Regions from separate parts of the Homo sapiens genome. Here all the other regions are linked to region 3. Evidence: promoter capture Hi-C in 16 types of primary human blood cells and fetal thymus (Javierre and others, 2016). All regions are on one chromosome and are shown on one strand. Each heading gives the region's core, a stretch centred on a gene start or on the middle of the fragment in contact. The rest is flanking DNA. Distances are from core to core; before and after follow the strand shown. Region 1 has its middle 110 kb from the start of RDUR. Region 2 has its middle 150 kb from the start of RDUR. Region 3 holds the start of NXPE3 (neurexophilin and PC-esterase domain family member 3).

Evidence for each region. Contacts are between HindIII fragments. The CHiCAGO score rates a contact against its expected background, and 5 or more counts as called.
Region 1: a contact is called between a fragment that was not itself captured here and the fragment with the promoter of NXPE3 in region 3, in 2 of 17 cell types (non-activated CD4 T cells and naive CD4 T cells). The highest score is 5.7, in non-activated CD4 T cells.
Region 2: a fragment that was not itself captured here is called in contact with the fragment with the promoter of NXPE3 in region 3 in 2 of 17 cell types (non-activated CD4 T cells and naive CD8 T cells); the score reaches 8.2 in non-activated CD4 T cells.

What each region holds. Positions count from the first base shown.
Region 1 is chr3:102,054,153-102,056,852 of GRCh38, forward strand. No RefSeq gene overlaps it. Among named protein-coding and RNA genes, the nearest start is that of RDUR, 110 kb to the left of the region's middle. The HindIII fragment of the contact is 752 bases long and covers 978-1,729 here.
Region 2 is chr3:102,087,007-102,089,706 of GRCh38, forward strand. No RefSeq gene overlaps it. Among named protein-coding and RNA genes, the nearest start is that of RDUR, 150 kb to the left of the region's middle. The HindIII fragment of the contact is 7,656 bases long and covers 1-2,700 here.
Region 3 is chr3:101,777,891-101,780,665 of GRCh38, forward strand. NXPE3 (neurexophilin and PC-esterase domain family member 3) reads left to right here and starts at 1,321. Exons shown (of 8, transcript NM_145037.4): 1 at 1,321-1,434. RefSeq lists enhancers at 1,135-1,429, 1,994-2,043 and a silencer at 1,234-1,583. The HindIII fragment of the contact is 3,350 bases long and covers 1-2,760 here.

The DNA.
Region 1 (2,700 bases), core at 104-2,603, 280 kb after region 3:
TTCTTGAAAATTGTGACTTTAAATGAAACAACACATCATGAAACAAATTTTATCAGAGGCTAATTGATTTAAACAAGAGTTAAGTTCCTATGGTATGTTTCTGGTAACAAAAACATTACCAAACTTCTGACCCAAAACACTTCTAATATCAAACATTGAAATAAGTGTGAGCTATATACATATATTTAAGAAAGATTAATAAGAACGAGTCAGATAATTATTTACCCAGTTTTTGGTGAATCAGTGAGTGATGGCAGTCTTCGTGGTGGTGGGTTAAATCAAAGAATAAGTGTCTGCAAAGTAAAAATGGTAGAGAGCACCTCCTCCCACCACGCAGTTCAAACACAATTACAAATATTCATACCACATCATTTATTGTCATGCATTTGGATGATTATCATAGATTTTATGAATTTTAAAAATTGTTTTATTTCATTACAAATTTGTATTTGGCAATAACTTGTGTTCATTTATTTATTTTGCAACCCACTTATTCCAGTTCAGAGTCGTAGGTGGCCTGGGAGACTATCATGGGGCAGCTCAGGAGGCAAGGTGGGAACCAGCCCTGGACCGCACGCCATCCCATCACGGGGCACACTCATACCCACACCCACACTCACTCAGTCTAGGACAATTTAGATATACCGATAAACCTAACATCTTTGGGATGTAGGAGGAAGCCGGAGAACCTGGAGAAAACCCAAGCAGGCCTGGCGAGAACATGCAAACTCCACACAGACAGTGATCCCTGCCAGGAATTGATTTTGCTTTTTCTCATAAATATTATAACAAAAGTGTGTTGAATAAAAACATGATTCGAGAACCTGGTATCGTACTCATTTACGATACCAGTATGTTCCAGCTCTGGGGAGTATAATATCAAAAGGCCTGGCAGAAAACTTCCTCTCTTCCTTATAATGCTTGCTCTCCCCATAACATTAAAAATCTTTGGTTGTTTGTAGGGCCCAGGGTAAAAAAGCTTTATTTATTATTTTCACTGTTACCTCTTTCCTTTTCGGAGACACAGAGAGAATGAAAATAAAAAGGCTTTTCCATGCTTACATGAACATTTCCATTTCTGTTGACTAAGAATAAACAGGGACTATTTGGTTGTTTTGGCTAATTGCAATGTAACTACTTACACACTCCTCTTTTGTCATCTGTAATCTTGCACTAACCTTGAAACTACTCTTCCTTCCTTTATTGCTCTCCAATCTTGTCTACTTCTAACATGTTATTACTGAATGTTCTTTTCTAAAATATACATGTGATCATATCACTCTTAAAAAACTTTAAAGATTAAAAAATATATTTTATAGGACTAATTCAAACTCTTTGCTTTAGATCATGAGATCTTTCATGATTTACAGCTAAGACTGGTAATGAACTATTACTATGTGTCTCTTTATGTGTGAGTCAATATGATAGGACATTTCAATGAACCCCATTTAACCTTCACAAGAATCCTGTGAAGTCAGTAGTTTTATCTCCATTTTTTACAATAAAAAAGCTGAGCTTAGAGAGATTAAATAATTTCCCCCCAAATAATGAATAGCATATTCTTATCTGCCACTGATCTCTCCTAAGCAGCCACATGCACCTAAAGCACTGAAGTCTTCATCGATGTCGGGATTGAACTGTATTTTCCTCATGCCTCTCTAACTTTCCTTATGCTGGATCTGCTGCCTGGAGTGAGAAGAAATCTTGTTCACTGGTCAATCTTAAAGAAAGCTTCAAGGTCCAGAAACCTGCCCTTTACTCTTGTTTAACCATTTTGTCTCCTGGAGAGATGGTTAGACGCACCCACCCTTGTGAGCCAGTAACCCTGGGTGGATATGTCAAATCACTAGAGGGTGAATCCCAGGTATGAAAAGTGTCCTGCCCTCACTCATCACCCAGGGACTGCTGATATCACCAAAAAACTTTTCAAGAAATTGAGGAAGAATAGAATATAGAGGAATTTTAAGTTACTGTAGTATTCCCATTATAGACGATCTAATGCCCATTGATTTTTCCTTCCTTTTTTATTAAAAAATCTTTTTGATATATTGAGACCAATGTGCTTACACAAAAGGAGTTAGTGCCCACATATTCAAATGTCCAATAGAGAGATTTCTCTTATATTATAGGTGTATTGTATTTTTTAATTGAAAGTGTTTATTGTGGTAAAATACACATAAAACTTATCTGAATTTTAAGTGTGCAGTTCAGTGGTGTTAAATATATTCACATTGTTGTGCAACTAATTTCCAGAACTTTTTCATCTTGCAAAACTGAATATACCCACTAAACAACAACCCACTATACCCACTAAACAACTCTCCATTCTTTCCTCCCCCTAGGCCCTGCCAACCATCATTCTTCTTTCTAGTTCTATGAGTCTGATGATTCTAGATACATTATACAAACAGAATCATACTTCAACATTCTCAACATGTATTCATGTTGTAGCATTTCCTTCCTTTTCAAGGCTGAATAATATTTGTGTGTGTGTGTGTGTGTGTACCACATTTTGTTTATCCATTCATCCCAATAGACACTTGGGTTGTTTCTTCCTTTTAGCTCTTGTGAACAATGTTGCTATGAACATGAGTGTACCAATATCTTTTCATGTCTATGCTTTCAATTCTTTTGAATATTGTATTCATCTCTTCTCACATTGCTATGAAGAAATACCTGATACTGGATAATTTATAAAGA
Region 2 (2,700 bases), core at 189-2,688, 310 kb after region 3:
TTCTCTTTCACTTTCCATCTCTGAGTAAACAAATGTTAACAATTTGGTATATATCCTTTCAGACATTCCTCTATATTCATATAAAGATATATAAGTACACACGTATATTTTTAATTTTAAAAAGGAAAATATGATAAAATATATACACCTACTATGTCCCCACAAAAATTAAAAAAGTTTTTAAAAAGGAAAACATGACAAAAAGGGTGTGCCATAGTTTACTTTGCTAATATATTATTACATCTTTCTAGGTCAATATATGTGTATCTCACTCATTTTTAAGTGGCTGCATAATTTTCTATATGACTGATATACCATAATTTATTCAAACGTTCACCTACCAGGAGCCTCATGACATGTCCAGTTGGGCCACCTCTGATGTCAGCCACACTTGAAGGGGACAGTTCCACGTGAATGTAGAATCAGCTTGTGCTGACAGCATCTTGACTCAAGTATGTGTCTTGAGTTGTTTTGCTTTTTTTCTCTAGAGTTTCTCTCTAATGGCTGTGCTCCCACCTCCTGACCGCCAGTGGGCAATTCTGTAAGTTATTCAGGAGGCAGAATCAAGTGCTGTTGCTTTCAGGAGTGATCAACTTCCATTTTTAATTGGGCTTTTCAATCTTCCCCGCCTCATTCTCCCTGGTCCCATGATCCCCTCTTGGAGTCACCTTCCAAATAAACTGGCTGTGCAGGAGTCTTTCTAATGACAGACATATGGATAATTTTTACTGTTTTTTTTTTTTTTTTTTGTGATGGGGTCTTGCTGTCACCCAGGCTGGAGTGCAATGGTGCAATCTCGGCTCACTGCAACCTCTGCCTCCTGAGTTCAAGCGATTCTCCTGCCTTAGCCTCTCAAGTAGCTGGGATTACAGGTAAGCACAACGAAGCCCGACTAATTTTTGTATTTTCAGTAGAGATGAGGGTTTTGCCATGTTGGCCAGGCTGGTCTTGAACTCCTGACTGTGGGCGATCCACCCACCTTGGTCTCCCAAAGTGCTGGGATTACAGGCATGAGCCACTGTGCCTGGCCGATTTTTACTGTTAATAAACAGAGATGCACTGAACTTCTTTTTTAAATATTATACATCAGTGCTTTTTTATTTTTAAGTATTAGATTATCAAATGAAATGTGTCATCAGATTACATTTCAAAAAGGCTATAGCAAATCACAGGCCAAGTGACAGTATGCAGGAATCCTTTTTATATACACACTACCCATCAAAGATTACTGTACAATTTTTGCCACTCTGATTTGAAAGTAGTGGTATGTCATATTGCTATATTTTCCTGTCAGATGTGATGCAAGGGGCATCTTTTCATGTTTTTGAAAATTTATTTATGTCAGCTCATGCAAAAAACCATCTGAGATTGATTAAAGACATAAATGAAAAAACATAGTGAAAATATTCAAAGAAATTTCAGAGAAAGTTTGTTTCACCATGTGTGAGGAAGACATTCTTAACTATAAATAAAGATGGATAAACTTGACTAGATTAAAATTTTGCTTTTTTTTTAAGTTCTGATTGAGCAAATGATACCATAAGCAAAGTTAAGACAAATGATGGACTGGCAAAAATATCTACAAAACATAAAATAGACATGATGAATTGATATAAAAATCAAGCTATCTTATAGAAAAGCAGGCAAAGGCCAAAAACAGAAGAAAATGTGTGGCATCTTCCTTCCTATTAGCAGTATAATTCTCCAGGTTATTTTTAGATGTACACACAAACAGAGGCCTGTAAGCTCAGGACCAATCTTTTCAAGAGAATTCGTTCAGACAGAGCTTACTTTGACTTGGGGACTACAGGTCAGCTGCTCTGGAATTCAGAGGCCACATCTCTGTAACACAATGGAAGTTACAAATAGTCTAATACATTTTGTCTACCTAGACCCAAGAATAATGTCCTTGTATTATGTGGGCTGGCATTCATACACCTAACTTCTCTTGGCCTGCATCATTTATCTGATTCTTCCCAATATATTGGATTAGGCAATTTCTAAACTTTATAAACCCTTTTATTGTGTGTGTAGTTCACCCCATCATATCAGCCACCAGGTAGAACCCCCAAGGTATCACAAGTCTGTGCAATTTATTTTGATATCTTAAAAGCATTAAAAAAATCTCATCTCACACAGAACATAAAACAGATATATTGCAATGCAGTGATGCCAGATGGGTTAACATTTATATTTCTTTTCTACTCAATGCTCCATGGTGAAAATAATAGTATTTCTTTATCCTTGTTTGTACTGTCTGAATGCCATAAATTACGGCTCTGCTCCAAAGCTGGTGCTTTATAAAGCCATAATCTGTTCACACACAAATAAAATGTCTTTCTGTATTTGGCCTTTGGACATAACTTCAGTGGGGGGAGAATTTATGAGCTATCAGATCCATGAGCTGCATCAGGTGTGCCAGAAGTTATGTTGATATGGCACATGAACTTAGATTCAAATCTAAGTTTAAGGTTTTAATGGGCCAGTTAAGTACAAACACTGGGGCCTGGTTTTCCTTCCCCATTGAACGAACCACTTTTTGCATAGGAATCTATTTATTTTAAATGTAAGTATAGAGAGGGAATAGCCTCAGAGGCAAGTGCTCACTGGGAGAGGAGAGAGGGGATCGATTCTTCTTTTGTAGTTGCTGCCGTTAAACTCCAGATGAAAAGATGCCTAGTGACATGAAGCTGTGAAAAT
Region 3 (2,775 bases), core at 71-2,570:
ACCAACAGTGTAAACGTGTTCCTACTTCTCCACATCCTCTCCACCACCTGTTGTTTCCTGACTTTTTAATGATCGCCATTCTAACTGGTGTGAGATGGTATCTCATTGTGGTTTTGATTTGCATTTCTCTGATGGCCAGTGCTGATGAGCATTTTTTCATGTGTTTGTTGGCTGCATAAATGAACACTTGGACACAGGAAGGGGAACATCACACACCTGGGCATGTTGTGGGGTAGGGGGAGGGGGGAGGGATAGCATTAGGAGATATACTTAATGTAAATGACGAGTTAATGGGTGCAGCATACCAACATGGCACATGTATACATATGTAACAAACCTGCACGTTGTGCACATGTACCCTAGAACTTAAAGTATATTAAAAAAAAAAAAAAGAAGATCATTACTACAGAAGAGATCTTCCACCCTGTGGCAGAACTTCCTTTTATCCCATTCACGGATCTGGTTGCCCACGAAGCAGGCCTGCCATGAAAACATCTGAATGAGCATGCAGAGTCCATTATGGTCAAGAAATGGAAAAATACTTAGTTGTCATGTACATTAATTATTTTTCTTAAACCTTGGGGTAATAGTCCGGGGGCAGGCCTGCTTTTGGGGCCTGTGTTAACCCCACTGTGCTCCAAGCACAGAGAAACACGGTGCAGCCCACAATTCCTTCTGGTTTCTTGAACAAGTGTCTTCTCAGGACTCCTCTCAGTTCCTGAATTTCACAAAACTGCTACCGACGTTTTACCAGTTAGAAAAATGTCCAAAATAGGATAACCCAGAATTGGGGATGGTGGAGGGTGAGGAAAGTATGCTTTGCCAAGAGACCGACATCATGTACAGTGAGAGTAAAAGGAACGGGCTGTTTTACTGGCGAGTAGAAGTTGTTGACTAATGTCAAAGCAAGGAAAAGATTCAAGGATCCGCTATATCCGTGCTTATACTTGGCAAATCGCATTTCTCTGGTTCAGGGCACAATAAATTCCATCACTCCACAGGAAAGACTGCCCTACTAGAGTCAACTGCGGTTGTGGGCACTTTCGCTGACAAGCGAAAAGCCTTGAGGTAGGTGGATGCTCCCAGGAAACTCAGACGTCCGAAGTTCACGAGGAGTTGGGTCGTGAGAGGGGCCAGACCTCGATCCGCGGGGCGACAGCTGCAGTGTCGCGTCGCGAGCAGGAGCTTGGCGGCGTAGAGCGCCAGGGTGCCAACTTCGCTTCCAGGCCTGTGGGTTCCGCCCGGCGCGTGCTGCTGTCAGTCAACGCCCTCGGCCCGCCCCCGCCGAAGCTCCACCAATCGTAGCCGGGGGTCGGAGGTGAGGAGACGTCGCCGGGTGAGGAAGCGGGGGGCTAGCGGCCTGGCGCTGCGGCGACCGACCGGGGCGTCAGGATCCCTGGCCCCCGGAGAGCGAAGGGCGGGCGGGTCCCGGAGGTGAGTGCTGGATGTGGTCTGTGTGCGGACGTCGGGAGGGGCCGCTGCGGGCGGAGCGACCCATTGCCCGGCTCTGCCAGCGCGCTCCTAGACTGCGAAGCCCCTCCCTCCGCGCGCATCTGCTCCCGAGTCCCCAGCCCCGTGCTGATAGGTGCAGCCCCTGGAGTCGTGGCTGTGGGCATAGGTGCCAGGGAGGGGAGGCCCGGGTCGAAGGCATAGGCAGAATTGGAGCCCTGGGTTGCCAAAGCGTCGCAGCTAAGAAGCCGGAGCCCAGGCTAGTACCGGCGGGGCGGGGCGGGGCGGGGCCGGGAGCGAGCATCTCCATCCTCAGTTTCCTCCACTTGCGGCAACGCCACAGCTCGGTACAGTTCGGACCTCCACGCCGCAGCGAAAGACTTCTGTCCTCCAGGCACCTTCACTAACCCGGTGCGGAGCACTTGGCGACGCCTCCCTGCCCATCTCATATCTCTCGGCTCATCGCTGCTCTGGGCACCAGCTGCCTCTTGGCTGGCGCTGCTGTCACACGGTGGACTGTTCTGGCCTTACTGAGCTGCCGTTTGGGGACATCAGATTCAGGTCGTATGGGGAGAAACGAGTGTAACTTTACAAGGTGTGATATGGAGACCCTGGCCTGTTGCCCATTTCTGCCTGATCAAAGGCCACTAGGGTGGTAATAAGAGGGGTTCCGAGGCAGGATTTATGCAGCATTTGTGCAAAATTGTAAATTTTCTTTGCTTTTCATTATTTACATTAAAGGGGGATTGTTGCCACATTTCCTAAAGATAAAGAATCACACTGCTTTGGTGGGCCTCCCCGCTCCTCACTGTGGTTAATTATCATTTGGAACATCAGGATATATTTGAAACTGGCAGGACTCCCAGACCCTGATAATTGTTTGGAGGCAGCAGTATACTATTTCTCCGTAGTGTTTGGGTTCTGCTTTTCTTTGAATTTGTTTAGTATTTTTTTTTCCATGTCTGTTATCCTCACAATCTCTTTGGGGCCAATAGAGTGCTGTTATTTGTTACTGAGAAAGGAAACGAAGGGATAAATCACTGAAGTGGGGTTAGCCTTCCCCATTGCCTGGGAATTGGGTTGTCCTGACCTGACAATTTAAGTTACAATTCAAACATCATTTTGGAAAGGCCATCCTTTTACCAACTGAAACGAATAACAGTCCCTGGCCACTCTATACTAGTGGTTCTCCCACTTGGCTGTATGTTGTAATCATCTAGGGACCTTTTTAAAAAAAGCTACTTCTTGGGCCTATTCCTACAGATTCTGATTTAATTGTTTGAGTGGGGCCCAGTTGTTTGTATTTTAAAAAGCTTCCACGATGAT